3 separate regions of the Homo sapiens genome follow, and all the other regions are linked to region 3. The links are contacts of gene promoters, found by promoter capture Hi-C in blood cells and fetal thymus (Javierre and others, 2016). All regions are on one chromosome and are shown on one strand. Each heading gives the region's core, a stretch centred on a gene start or on the middle of the fragment in contact. The rest is flanking DNA. Distances are from core to core; before and after follow the strand shown.

Region 1 (4,354 bases), core at 374-2,873, 400 kb after region 3:
ACAAAGTAGAGGAGGACGGAACAGAAACGGAACAGAATGGCGCCGCCCCCCCAGCCCTGCAGGTGGGACTAAGGGGGAGGAGCAGAGTGAACAGGGCCCTCGGCTTCCAAGCTAGGACTCGCCACTCAGTGTGCAGACCCCAGAACTTGTGAGAAATGCTGACTCTCCCTTCATCCCGAAACTACCGAAACAAATCTAATCTTAACAAGATTCCAGATGACTGGGTGCACTTTGATGTTTGAGCTACCCCGGACTGGAATGGCTGAGTCATTTCACCTATCTGAGCCTTGCTTCTGAGTCTGTTTCCTCAATTGAGAAGACATTCAAAGCTTTTAGTCCAGAGCCTGGTGACAATAATTACATTACTGTCATTACTCTATTGGCTAGGAGAGAAGGGGCACCTTGTAGCTGGTCTGTAGGGGTCAAGGGCAGGCCTGGCTTTCTGGAGTTGAACTAGAGTGACAAGAGAAGCTTATACAATGGGGCGGCGGAGGGTGTATATGTGTGCACTGGACTGCCGGCAAACCACAGCACACCTCCAGGGAACAGGAGTAAACAAAAGTTGGTAGGCTGGTGCCAGCCTGGCCCTGGTTGGAAATATATGCTCAGCTCCTGACTCCCGGGGTAGGAGGTGGGAGTTTCCCACTCTTTAGCCGGGCCTGAAACAAAGGGTCAGGAGACCCAGGGAACAGGAACACCAGAACCTGCAGCCACACCAGAGGGCACGAGGGTCCTCCTGATAAGGAGCTGGTGACATTCTTTCCATATTTATGTAGAACCTACCATGTGCCCTGCAGGGAGTCCTAAAGGGAAAGAGAATAGCCTTGCTCCATGTGGGGAAGGAAATACCAGGATTCTCATATCTTCCCGCACAAAACAATTCCCCTGGAGCTGGTTAAAAACCCAGAGCCCAAAGGCTGGGCGCGGTGGCTCACGCCTGTAAATCCCAGCACTTTGGGAGGCCGAGGCAGGGGCGGGGGCGGGGCGGGGCGGGGCGGGGCGGGGGAGGTGGATCACGAGGTCAGGAGATCGAGACCATCCTGGCCAACATGGTGAAACCCCGTCTCTACTAAAAATACAAAAATAGCCATGTGTGGTGGCGCAGGCCGGGGAGGCTGAGGCAGCAGAATCGCTTGAACCCGGGAGGTAGAAGGTTGCAGTGAGCCGAGATCGTGCCACTGCACTCCAGCCTGGCAACGGATCGAGACTCCGTCTCAAAAAACCCCCAGAGCCCAGACCCTAGCCCAGAGATTCTGACTTCCTGTGCCTGAGGTGGGACCCTAGGAATTTGAAATTAATTAAATTAATTTTTTTGGGTGGGGGAGGACAGGATCTTGCTCTGTCACCCAGGCTGGAGTGCAGTGGTGCCATCATAGCTGACTGCAGCCTCTATCTCCCAGGCTCAAGCAATCCTCCTGCCTTGGCTTCCCAAAGTGCTGGGGTTGTTTTTGTTTTTGTTTTTTGTTTTGAAACAGGGTCTCGCTCTGCCACCAAGGCTGGAGTGCAGTGGCGCAATCTTGGCTTTCTGCAACCTCTGCCTCCTGAACTCGAGCAGTCCTCCCGCCTCAGCCTCCTGAGTAGCTGCAGCTACAGGTGCATGCCACCAAGCCTGGCAAATTTTTGTATTTTTAGTAGAGACAACAGGATCTTGCCATGTTGCCCAGGCTGCCCTCAAACTCCCATGATCCACCTGCCTCAGTCTCCCAAAGCACTGGGATTACAGGCGTGAGCCACCGCCCAGCCCAGAATCTGCATTTCAAATAAATGTCTGAGGTAGCTGTGAGCTGTCCCATTTAGAGGAACGGGGTAGGAAAGAGAGTCCTCTAGCAAACAAGGGTGTCCCATTGCTGGTGGCGGGTGCAGCGGTGGTAGATAAAGAATCTTGGCTCAGTTAATCCAAGATGCAAGGGAGGAGTCCTGAGTGACTGGCAGCTTTGTCTCCAGTAACAGCCCAGTCCTTTATCTTGGGATTTGCGAAGATCCACATCTCTGCTTTCTCATGCATTTAAACACACACACACACACACACACACACACACACTCGTGTGGCCTTGCTTGGGCTGGGAGAGGGCAGAAGACTTTGTTAGGATTGCAAATGCATTCAGTGAAGCCCTCCTAATTGCTGGAATACATATTAGAGAAATTCTGTAAAGAAAATTTTTTTGCTCATCACCACTCTCACATGACTGTTTGCATTTACCCGCTGTACCCAGCCTACCCTTGTGCAAACAGATTTTTACATGGCTGCAACCACAGAGCAAACAGTTGATTACTCCTTAATTCCCTTACACATCCCTACATTGATTTTCCTCCCTTCCATTCCACCGCCTGTTCTCTAAGGGCTGGATATCGCCAGCATCTCACCCCAGGCTTGAGGGGAATGTCACAGACTCAGGGGCCCTATGGAACTCTAATCCCACTCTCTCTGAGACTTTGAAATAGTCTTTTCATGGCTCAGTTTCCTCTATTCTACAGCAGTGTTAGGAAGAGGAGCTGAAGCAGGCAAGGGCAGGAAGTGCTCCATGCTGGGAACGATCCAATAATAAATCATGCCTTAGAGGAGGGGCCAGTAAACTTTTTCTGTACAGGGCCAGATAGTAAATATGTTAGCCTTTGCAGGCCATAAGGTCTCTTTTGTAGCTACTCAACTCTAGCCATAGACCATATGTAAATGAGGGGCATAGTTGGTTATGTTCTAATAAAACTTTATTCCTCAAAGCAGGCCATGGGCCAGAATGGAGCCAGGACTGTAGTTTGCCAATCCTTGCTTTAGAGCAAGCTTGTCCAACCCATGGCCCAACACAAATTAGTGAACTTTCTTAAAATATTATGAGGGGTTTTTTTTTGCGTTTTTTTGTTTTGTTTTTTAGCTCATCAGCTATTGTTAGTGTCAGTGTATTTTATGTGTGGCCCAAGACAATTCTTCTTCCAATGTGACCCAGGGAAGCCAAAAGATTGGACACCCTGTTTAGAGCTTTTTGTTTTAATGCTCTTCAAAGCACTACCATAAATACCGCTTCAGGCAGTTACCCTGCAGGCAGCCTGGACACTATCCCCTTTAACAGAAGAAAAAATTGAGGCCCAGAGAGTGCTTAGCCCTATGTATTGACAGAGACAGGATGCCAAGGCAGGGCTGCACCTGCATCCCATCACAGAATCCCCAACACTGGTCCCTCCTCTCCCTAACTCCAAGCAGAGCAGGGAGGACTTCTGCCACGCCCAGTGGCACCCCAGGGAACACCCCGGAAACACTGAGGCGCTGTTCTGCTGGGTGCATGATGTTTTCCATGGCTCCTTGTGCAGGCAAGACCAAGCTGAGTCAGCTGGAGGCCCAGCCCTGCCTTGAGGAACGGGAGGAGCTGTCCTTTGGACTCCAGCTCTGCCCAGGCTGATGAGGGCAGCAGCTGGCTGGAGATGACAGGGCACCAGGCCCTCTTCCCTCACCAGAGGTGCTGATGCCCACTAGCAGCCTGCACAGCCTAGGCAAAATGCAGAAGTGGCTGAGAGGCGTGGCTGAGAGGCATGGCTGAGGTCTCCCCTTGAGGGAGGAAGGGTGTGTGTGTGTGTATGTGTGTGGTATTTTCCAGGCAGATGCCCCTCAAGTAAACTTGGATCGCCTTCCTCTGCAGAGTTAATTCAGCAAACCCGCTAAGAGTGTGATCTCTGGAGCCTGACTGCCTGGATTCAAATACTAGTTCTGCCTCACAAGGGAGATTTTGGAGGTCATCGAAATGTTCTAAAACCAGATGGTGGTGATAATGGCACAACTCTGTGTAAATGGTCTACTAAAAATCATTGAATTGTGGACTTAGAAAAATGCTGCCTCCAGCATTGAAAGCTGTATGATCTTGGGCATATTACTTAACCTCCCTGTGCCTCAGTCTCCTCATCTGTCAAACAGGAATGACAATAATAGTGCCTGACTCTAGATGAGATTTCAATGAATCAGTAACACAAAGATTTTAGAATGGCATCTTGCACCTAAGAAGGGATTAATAAATGGTCTTTCCATGGTGCCTCCGTTGAGAGGGAAAGAAGTGTCCTGGCTCACAGGCACTTGCCTGCACACCTGTGTCTGGGAGTGCCTACACCATGCCTCCACTTGCCCTGCTCCTCCTGGTCTTTGCTTCTACTGTTTGTTTTGCCAGGAATGCCCTCTCCTGTCAGCTCGAATGCTAGTTCCACTCAGAGGTCATCTCTCTTCTTTGCTTTTATGCTTAATAATCATTTACAGCAAAGGCTCAGAAAGGGCTAAATGGCATATGGTTAGTTCTGTTCACCCCCTGATCTGATATCTTTGTGCCAGGAAGAGGCGACACTTTGTCCGTCCTGCTCCTATCCATGGTGCCTTGTG
Region 2 (3,960 bases), core at 859-3,358, 440 kb after region 3:
AGTGTGGGTGAGGCCCTTGACTTGATTCTAACCCATAGAATATGGCAAAGGTGATGGGACGTCTCTCTGTGGATTATGTTAGGTTATATAGACTTTAGCAGATTGCAGAGAGACTCTTCTCGCTGACTTGATGAAATAAGCAGCGTGGTGAGGAAGCTGGTGTAACAAGGAACAGAGGGCAGCCTCTATGACCTGAGTGTGTCCCCCAGGCAATGTCAAGTGAAAAGCCAGCTCCCTTGTCACATAGCCACAACAAAATGAGTTCTGCCAACAACCTGAATAAGTTGGAAGTGGATTCTTCCCCAGTTGAGCCTCCAGATGAAAATACAGCCCAGGTGACACCCTGAGAGCAGCCTTGTGAGACGCTAGGCAGAGGACCAGCTAAGCTGTGCCTGGACTCCTGGCCCATAGAAACTGTGAGATAATAAATGTGTGGCCAGGCACGGTGGCTCATGCCTGTAATCGCAGCACTTTGGGAGGCTGAGGCAGGTGGATCACCTGAGGTCGGGAGTTTGAGACCACCCTGACCAACATGGAGAAACCCTGTCTCTACTAAAAATACAAAATTAGTGGGGCATGGCGGCACATGCCTGTAATCCCAGCTACTCAGGAGGCTGAGGCAGGAGAATTGCTTGAACCTGGGAGGCAGGAGGTTGTGCTGAGCCGAGATCGCATCATTGTACTCTAGCCTGGGCAACAAGAGTGAAACTCCATCTCAAAATAATAATAATAATAATAATAATAATAATAATAATAATAATAATAAATGTGTGTAGTTTTAAAACTGCTGACTTTGTGGTTATTTGTTATGCAACATAGAAAACTAATATAACACACACATTAGCCAGAGTTCTTCAGAGAGACAGAGCTAATAGGATTATATATAGAGGTATGAGAGAAGATTTATTAGGGGGATTGGCTCACATGTTTATGGAGGCTGAGAAGTCCCACAATATGCCATCTGCAAGATGGAGAACCAGGGAAGCCAGTAGCATGGCTCAGTTCAAGCCCAAAGGGTTCAGAGCCAAGGAAACTGATGGTGTAACTCTGGGTCTGAAGCTGAAGGACTGAGAACGTGAGAGTGGGGAGGGGTTGCTACTGGTGCAAGTCCTGGAGTCCAAGGGCAGGAGAAGAAGAGTGTCCCAGCTCCAGGACAGAGAGAGAGAGAGAGAGGGAGAGAATTCACCTTTCCCCTGCCTTTTTCTTCTGTCCAGGCCTAAGCCAATTGGATGGTGCCCACCCACATAGGCTGAAGGCAGATTCTCCTTACTTAGTCCATGAATTCAAATGCCAGTCTCTTTGGCAAGCACCCTCACAGAAACACCCAGAAATAAAGCTTTACCAGCTTGTTGGGTAATCCCTTCATCCAGTCCTAAAATTAACTGTCACAACACATAAGCAAAATGTCAGTATGCTGTGGGAGGAAGATATTTGAGAGAGATTTGGGAAGGCTTCACAGAGGAGGTGGCATTTGTACTCACACATGAAGAGTGAGAGGGATTTAAATAGAAAGGGAAAGATGAGCGGCTGCCTTGTCCCCAACCTCTTCATTTCCCAATCTTGGGCCTGAGAGTCCTCGGCAAGGACACATTTTCCAGCTGGGCCCCAAGCAAGTTCACAGAAGGAGTCCTTCTCTCCCCGTCCCTTAACTTGTTGTGGAGAAGCTGACTGAAGCAGGGAGAACCCAGCTCCCCACCCCCATATACCTTCCGTCAATCAATTCATGTGGAGTAGAGGTAAAACAGTCCCAGTTTGTCTCTTTTTCAAAAATAACTATCCTCTTTGATTTTGTGAGCAACATATGTTCATTATGAACAATTTTTTTTTTTTTTTTTGAGATGGAGTCTCTCTCTGTCGCCCAGGCTGGAGTGCAATGGCGTAGTCTCGGCTCACTGCAAACTCCGCCTCCCAGGTTGAAGTGATTCTCCTGCCTCGGCCTCCCAAGTAGCTGGAATTACAGGCGCCCACCACCATGCCTGGCTAATTTTTGTATTTTTAGTACAGATGGGGTTTTACCATGTTGGCCAGGCTGGTCTCGAACTCCTGACCTTGTGATCCACCCGCCTCAGCCTCCCAAAGTGCCGGGATTACAGGCGTGAGCCTGGATCTGGTAAGGCTTTAACAAAGGCCTCCACCTTCCCTAGGGCCTGACTACAGCTGGTAGGTGGCCTGTGTGAGGCAGGTTGGATGTCTGTTCCTACACATAGCCCTTCTGGCCGTCCAGGGCCCAGAGTGAATGGGGCTAAAGGGACAAGAGCACGATTGGCTCTAACCCAGGGATGCTGCTGTGTCCAAGATGCAGTATAAGTGCACCTAGATTGTAGTGAACAGCACATCAGACATGCTGCTGTAATAGATACAAAATCATAACATCATAGCCAAGATTTATGGGGCACTTACTCTGGGGCAGACCTTGTTCTAAATGCTTTTCTTATATTAACTCACATACTCTTTTTTTTTTTTTTTTTTGAGATAGGGTCTCGCTTTGTCATTCAGGCTGGAGTGCAGTGGTGCGATCTTGGCTCACTGCAACCTCCGCCTCCTGGGTTCAAGCGATTCTCCTGCCTCAGCCTCCCGAGTAGCTGGGATTACAGGAGTGTGCACCATCACGCCTGGCTAATTTATGTATTTTTAATAGAGATGAGGTTTCACCATGTTGGCCAGGCTGGTCTCGTACTCCTGGCCTCAAGTGATCCACCCGCCTCGGCCTCCCAAAATGTTGGGATTACAGGTGTGAGCCACCGTGCCCAGCCCCACTTACTCCCCTTAACAGCCCTATCAGATGGGCGCCATTATTCCTATTTTAAGAATGAGGAAACTGGGGCCCAGAGAGGTTAAGTTACTTGCTCAAGGTCACCCAGCCAGTAATGTAAGCAAGAAACAAGCTTGTATTGTTTTCAGCCACTGAGATTTTAGAGTGGTTTGTTACTGTAGCATAACCTAGCCCATTCTGAAATATGTATGCACATGTATTTGATATATGTTATATGTTGTATAAATTGTATATTTATATAAATCTATTTACATGTAATTATATATTATTTATATAAATCATATAAATTGTGTATCAGTGCACAACTTGACCAAGTGTCCAAGGCCCTGGTGGGGAAAGCAGAAATATGGGCAGTGGTTCCCTCTAGATGAGTTAGGAGACCTGGGTGTGCCCCATATGTAAAGGAGGAAGGCAAACAAGAGAAAAAGACAGGGCAGGGCAAGCGCTGGCTTTAAGCTTTCCTGGCAGCATCCAGGTTAAGTGCACCTGCACCCAAATGCTGGTTCCATAAATGAGCCAGCTTTTAAGTGTGTGGCTAGGGAGTACGCATCCCACCAGGCATCAGAGAAAGCTGTTGCTGCATAGACAGGCCCCCAGGCTTGGCCTGGGAGCTTTCCAGGACCAGCAGGTAGCAGCTCACCCATGCACCTGTGTGCCTGCACTCTCACACTCACACATACCCCAGGGCACCAGGCGCACACTCCATGTCCCCTGCCCTGTGCCCCTAGTAGGTGATGGTGATGATGTGAGGCTCAGAATTAGATGGAAGGATGAATTCAGGGCTCTCAAGAAGGGAGAGATGCAACCTTCAGGAACATGAGAGTGTGGCCAGAACAGGATGAGTGTGTACGAGTGTGTGTATGTGTGTGCACGTCTCTGTGTACTGGTGCAGGCTAATGTAGGAGGGGGTTCTCTCTGGCTGTTCAAGGCTTATCTTGGAAGCCCACAGACTCTGCATCCACCCAGGTGCCCTCAAATGTTAGCACACTCATGGTATGATTGGACCCCCTCAGTTGTGATGGCCAAGTGCAGTGCACAGCCTGGATAACTGTACACAGCAGCCCTGTCAAGAGCCCACAGTTGGCCATCTCTGGACAAGAAGCCAGCTCTATCTCATATATACCTCAATTCCATGATTGAAGGCAGAATCCAAAACCACTGTGAATCCACTCAAACCAGGAGAAGAA
Region 3 (4,040 bases), core at 355-2,854:
TGTCCCTTTCCCTGAGGGATGAAGCAGCCCCTCACTCGGGATGGGGGGAGGGCAGAGGATGGGAGCTGGGCAGTAATTAACCTGCACTTCCCCAGCGAGCTCTAAGCCAAAAACTGCGCTCAAGTTGAGTGCAGAAGCTCCGCGCTGAACCGTCCCCAGAACAGACAGGCGAGAGAACGACGGCTGGAGCTGAGGGGGGTTCGGGGGAAGGCGCAGCGGCCAGGGGCTGGCGGAGAGCGGAGGGCGGGGGCCTGGGCCCAGCGGGGTTCGCGCAGACAAGCCCCGCCCCGGGCTCCCTCCCTTCCTCACCCGGGGCGCGGGGCTGGGGCGCGCCAGGCGGCTGCGGCGCGAACCTGCTCGCGCAGCCCGGAGCAGCTCGGGGCAGCCGTGCGTGAAGCCGGAACCCCGCGCGGGGAGGGGGCCGAGCTGGCATCTGCCCGCTCCCTTCCAGGAGGCGAGCGGACGCGCTGGGCCAGAGCTGGTCGGGACAGCCCAGGGGTGGGCGGCACGGACTCGGGGGATCGGGGGGAAGGGGGCGTGTTTTCCGGGATTCGGGACCGAGACGGGGGGAGGGGGAAACTCGGGGGGCGGGCAGGCAGCTGGGAACCCGGGGGGAGGCAGACAACGGGGCGCACGGAGGGAGCGCTCCGGGGTTGGTGTTCCCCAGGGTCATAGAATAACCCACGGGGAGAAAGAGACTGCCCAGGGACTCGAGGGGACGGGGCCAGGGGCGGCTTCTTCAAGAGACCGAGCTGGAGGAAGGGACGGGAAGGGAGGGAGAGATGGTACTTCCACCCGCCCCCCCATCAGCCCAGCCCCCGGGGCGTGGCGCCGCTCTGGCCCTCCCACTCCCCCCGCTGGCCTGGCCAGACTCAGCCCCCGCACACCTCCCCTACCTCCGACCCCCTCTCAGGCATCGCCGGCCCCAGCCGTGTCCGGTGGAGGGGGAGTGGGCGCGGGGCCCGCGCGTCCCTCAAACTTCTTGCGAGTTCACCATCACGCCTCCCGCCCCTTCGACTCCCAGCTCCGGGCCGGGAAGGCCCATGCCCGCCCGGCCCCTCCCGCCCGGTTACATAAGGTCGCGGAGAAGCCGCCCCCGGCCCGCGCCTGAAGGGAGGGGCCGAGGGGGCTCCCGGCTCGGCGGGCAGCGCCGCTCGGGCCACGCGCTGGGCGCCCGGGGGCGGACGGACTGCGGGTGGGTGGCGGCGCGCACGGTCCTGCTTCCCTCTCCTGCCGGCATCCCCCACCCTCCCACCTGTCTCCGGGACCCACGGGATAGGGGCCAGGGAGCCTGGGTCGGGGGTCCCGGGCCCTCCTCGTGCCTCTCGCTCCCCGGTCCCGCTCACCTCGCTCTGAAGGTCAATCTGTCCGCCGCCCGCGCCCCGCGGCTCCGGCAACTTGTCGCAAGTTCGGGTGCCTGGCCCGCAAGCTGTGCCCGCCACCTGCTCCCGGCCTGCTCCGGCCCCGTGCCACCAGGGAGGCCCGCCCCGTCCGCCCTTCCCGCCGCCGTCGGCGCCGCGGCCGCTCCCTGCGTCCCGCCCGGGCCGCCGCCTCCGCTGTCACCGAGCCCCGCGCCCGGCGCCCGGGCTCCGGCTGTCACTCCACGCACACTTCCCTCCGCGCCCGGCAGAGGGCAGCACCCGCCCCGCCTCCCAGCCGCTCTGCCTCGGCGCCCACTGGGAAGCGTAGTTCTCGCTGCAGTCCCGCTAGGCACGCCGGGATTTGTAGTCCCGCTCAGCGGACTAAGGCTTACAGGGAAAGAGGCTCTTGACTTGGAACCTCTGATCCACTTCTACCTCTTTGCAAGTTTTCTTTCTCCTCTCAGTAAAGTCCCAAACCAGGGCTCACTAAGATACATTCTGTAGCCTGTCCGACCCCCTAAAAGGAACCTGCAGCCTGCTGTCCTTCGGCAGTCTAAGAAAGAGAGGGTCCCAGATGGTGTGCTGTTGCCATAGAAACTCCACCTGTGGCAAATTCCAGCTTCTCTTCAGGAGTAGGGTGCAGGACCTGGATCTTGCACTTTTATCCCTGCCCCGATCATAAGGGGCAAGGCCAGGGTGAGCCTGGCGAAGTACAGGGTAAAATATGACAGTAGAAGGCAGCCTGCCCCCATTATGGGTTCTACATTCACGCCCCACTCACCAGCCTGAGCTTGCTGTCATGTTGCTGGACAGAAATTGTCTGAGCTCCTTTCATGTCACCTTCCCTTGTTGGAAGTTCACAGGGTGCGGAGGCATCATTCTCTACTTTCTCCTCTTCCCCGCCCCTTTTTCCCTGTCTCCTCCCCCAGCCCCTCCCCTGCTTTTCTTCTCCTTCCCCTCCTCCTTTTCTTCCTCTCTCTCCTCCTTCCCCACATACAATGTTGCTCCTGGTTTCTGGATCTTTTGCTAAGAGGCTCCTGAGGAGGACAGGGATGAAGTCCAAAGGGACAAGATCCCTTGCTGAGTTGGTTCCAGCAAATAGGCTCGATTTCTCTGTGACTCAAGTAGGAACACTCTCCCCCGGCCCGCCACCCACCCACCCATGATGGCGCTACCACTGTCTTCCCTTTCCAGGGGAAAAGTATGAACTTTAAGCTCTGAGGGTTACAGAGCCCATCCCAAGCCATGCCTTAGGTCCCATTTCTCTTAGAATCACAGTGACCCACCAGGAAACCTTGTAGCCACTCAGGGAAAACTCCCTTCCAAAAACAACAGGATGACCAACATAAAGAAGAACTATTTATTATTAGAGAAAGTCCAGAGTCCAGAAAAAGAAGGCTGAATCCAGAGTGGAAAGACAGATACAATGCCCTAGGAGGGTGCAGGGTCAAGAGGAAGAGGGGAGCCCACGTGTCGAGGCAGCAAGTCTAGGCGGCAGTGGCAAAGCCTACTCTGTTGTTGCCCAAGTCGTAGACGGAATAGTAGGACCTGAGGAAGACATCCCCGAGGATCCACAGGGGCTGGCCGTTCTGGGAGGACAGGTAGGTGGGCTCGACTCCCACGGTGCAGTAGCCGTTGTTCTGCTCAACAAAGAAAGGCAGCACTCATTCATTTGTCCACACATGAGCTGGGCCCTGCTCAGCTCTGAGCCCTGGGCTGGGAGCACAAGTGCAGAGCTGAGGGAGCCAGGGTCTCTGCCTTGAGGGCTCATAGGCCAACTGAGCCACCAGAGCAGAGCGGGTGGGAGGATTTCTGGAACAGGTACATTCAGGCTGCCGTGGTCCTCAGCAGGGTCTCCTCTCCCCATGATGGGAAACTTCTCTTCCCACAGACCTCCCTCCTGCTCCCAATTTGGAGCAGATCAGCCTGGTGGTTAAACCTTGGAGCCAAACCAACTTGAATTCAAACCTTAGCTGTGTCGCCTTGAGTCAGTTACTCAACCTCTCTGAACCTCCAAGTTTTCATTTGTAAAACAGAAATGAGTATCTCCCTCATTAAATACTGTGACAATTAAATGGGATCATGAAGCAAAGTGCTTTGCACAGTGGTCTGCCCTAGTAAGTGCTCAACAAAGAGCCCAGTGCCTCTCCCCACTAATTAATAATAATTGATCATAGATGACAATCTTCTATTTCATAGCCTTGTTCCAGAGAAGGGGGTTTAGAATCAATGAGTGGGGAAGATAAATGAGTACAAGCGTGGAGTCGGAAAATGGCACAAGGCAGGAGACCCAGCATTTCTGGCTCCCCAGCCCTTCCTCCCAACCCCAATCATGGTGGCTCAGCCTGCAGGGACCAGGACTTACACTGAGGATATAGGAGGAAGGTGGCAGAGGGAACTCCACACCATTGATGATGAAGGTCAAGCTGGGCAGATTCTGAATGCTGTTACAGTTCACGAGAAACTGCAAGAGGAATAGGTCCCTGGTTAACTCATCCTCCCCCTGATAGCACCCACCAGCCCCATCATCTCAGCCCCTGGATCCCAGGCCTGAGCTCCGGGCCCAAGCCCTAAGCCTGTTTTTGGACTAGAGAATGCAGCTCCAAGGGAAAGTCCTGTGTAGGTAATGCTGGCATTATCCCATGGACTCATAGAATGGGTGTGATTTGGAGTGATCCC

Evidence for each region. The method cuts DNA at HindIII sites, captures the fragments that hold promoters and counts their contacts. A CHiCAGO score of 5 or more calls a contact.
Region 1: a contact is called between a fragment that was not itself captured here and the fragment with the promoter of TFEB in region 3, in 1 of 17 cell types (naive CD8 T cells). The highest score is 5.0, in naive CD8 T cells.
Region 2: a fragment that was not itself captured here is called in contact with the fragment with the promoter of TFEB in region 3 in 2 of 17 cell types (total CD8 T cells and non-activated CD4 T cells); the score reaches 5.5 in total CD8 T cells.

The regions. Positions count from the first base shown.
Region 1 is chr6:42,136,842-42,141,195 of GRCh38, forward strand. The region is part of intron 1 of C6orf132 (chromosome 6 open reading frame 132); the gene reads right to left. Among named protein-coding and RNA genes, the nearest start is that of C6orf132, 3.6 kb to the right of the region's middle. RefSeq lists enhancers at 1-118, 1-53, 4,354. The HindIII fragment of the contact is 2,308 bases long and covers 470-2,777 here.
Region 2 is chr6:42,169,197-42,173,156 of GRCh38, forward strand. The region is part of intron 1 of GUCA1ANB-GUCA1A (GUCA1ANB-GUCA1A readthrough); the gene reads left to right. Among named protein-coding and RNA genes, the nearest start is that of GUCA1A, 2.2 kb to the right of the region's middle. The HindIII fragment of the contact is 1,549 bases long and covers 1,335-2,883 here.
Region 3 is chr6:41,734,004-41,738,043 of GRCh38, forward strand. TFEB (transcription factor EB) reads right to left here and starts at 1,605. Exons shown (of 9, transcript NM_001271944.2): 1 at 1,347-1,605. It overlaps PGC (progastricsin), which reads right to left. Exons shown (of 9, transcript NM_002630.4): 8 at 3,727-3,825; 9 at 2,708-3,001. The coding sequence ends at 2,849. RefSeq lists silencers at 154-593, 724-1,253, 1,294-1,763. The HindIII fragment of the contact is 28,952 bases long and covers 1-4,040 here.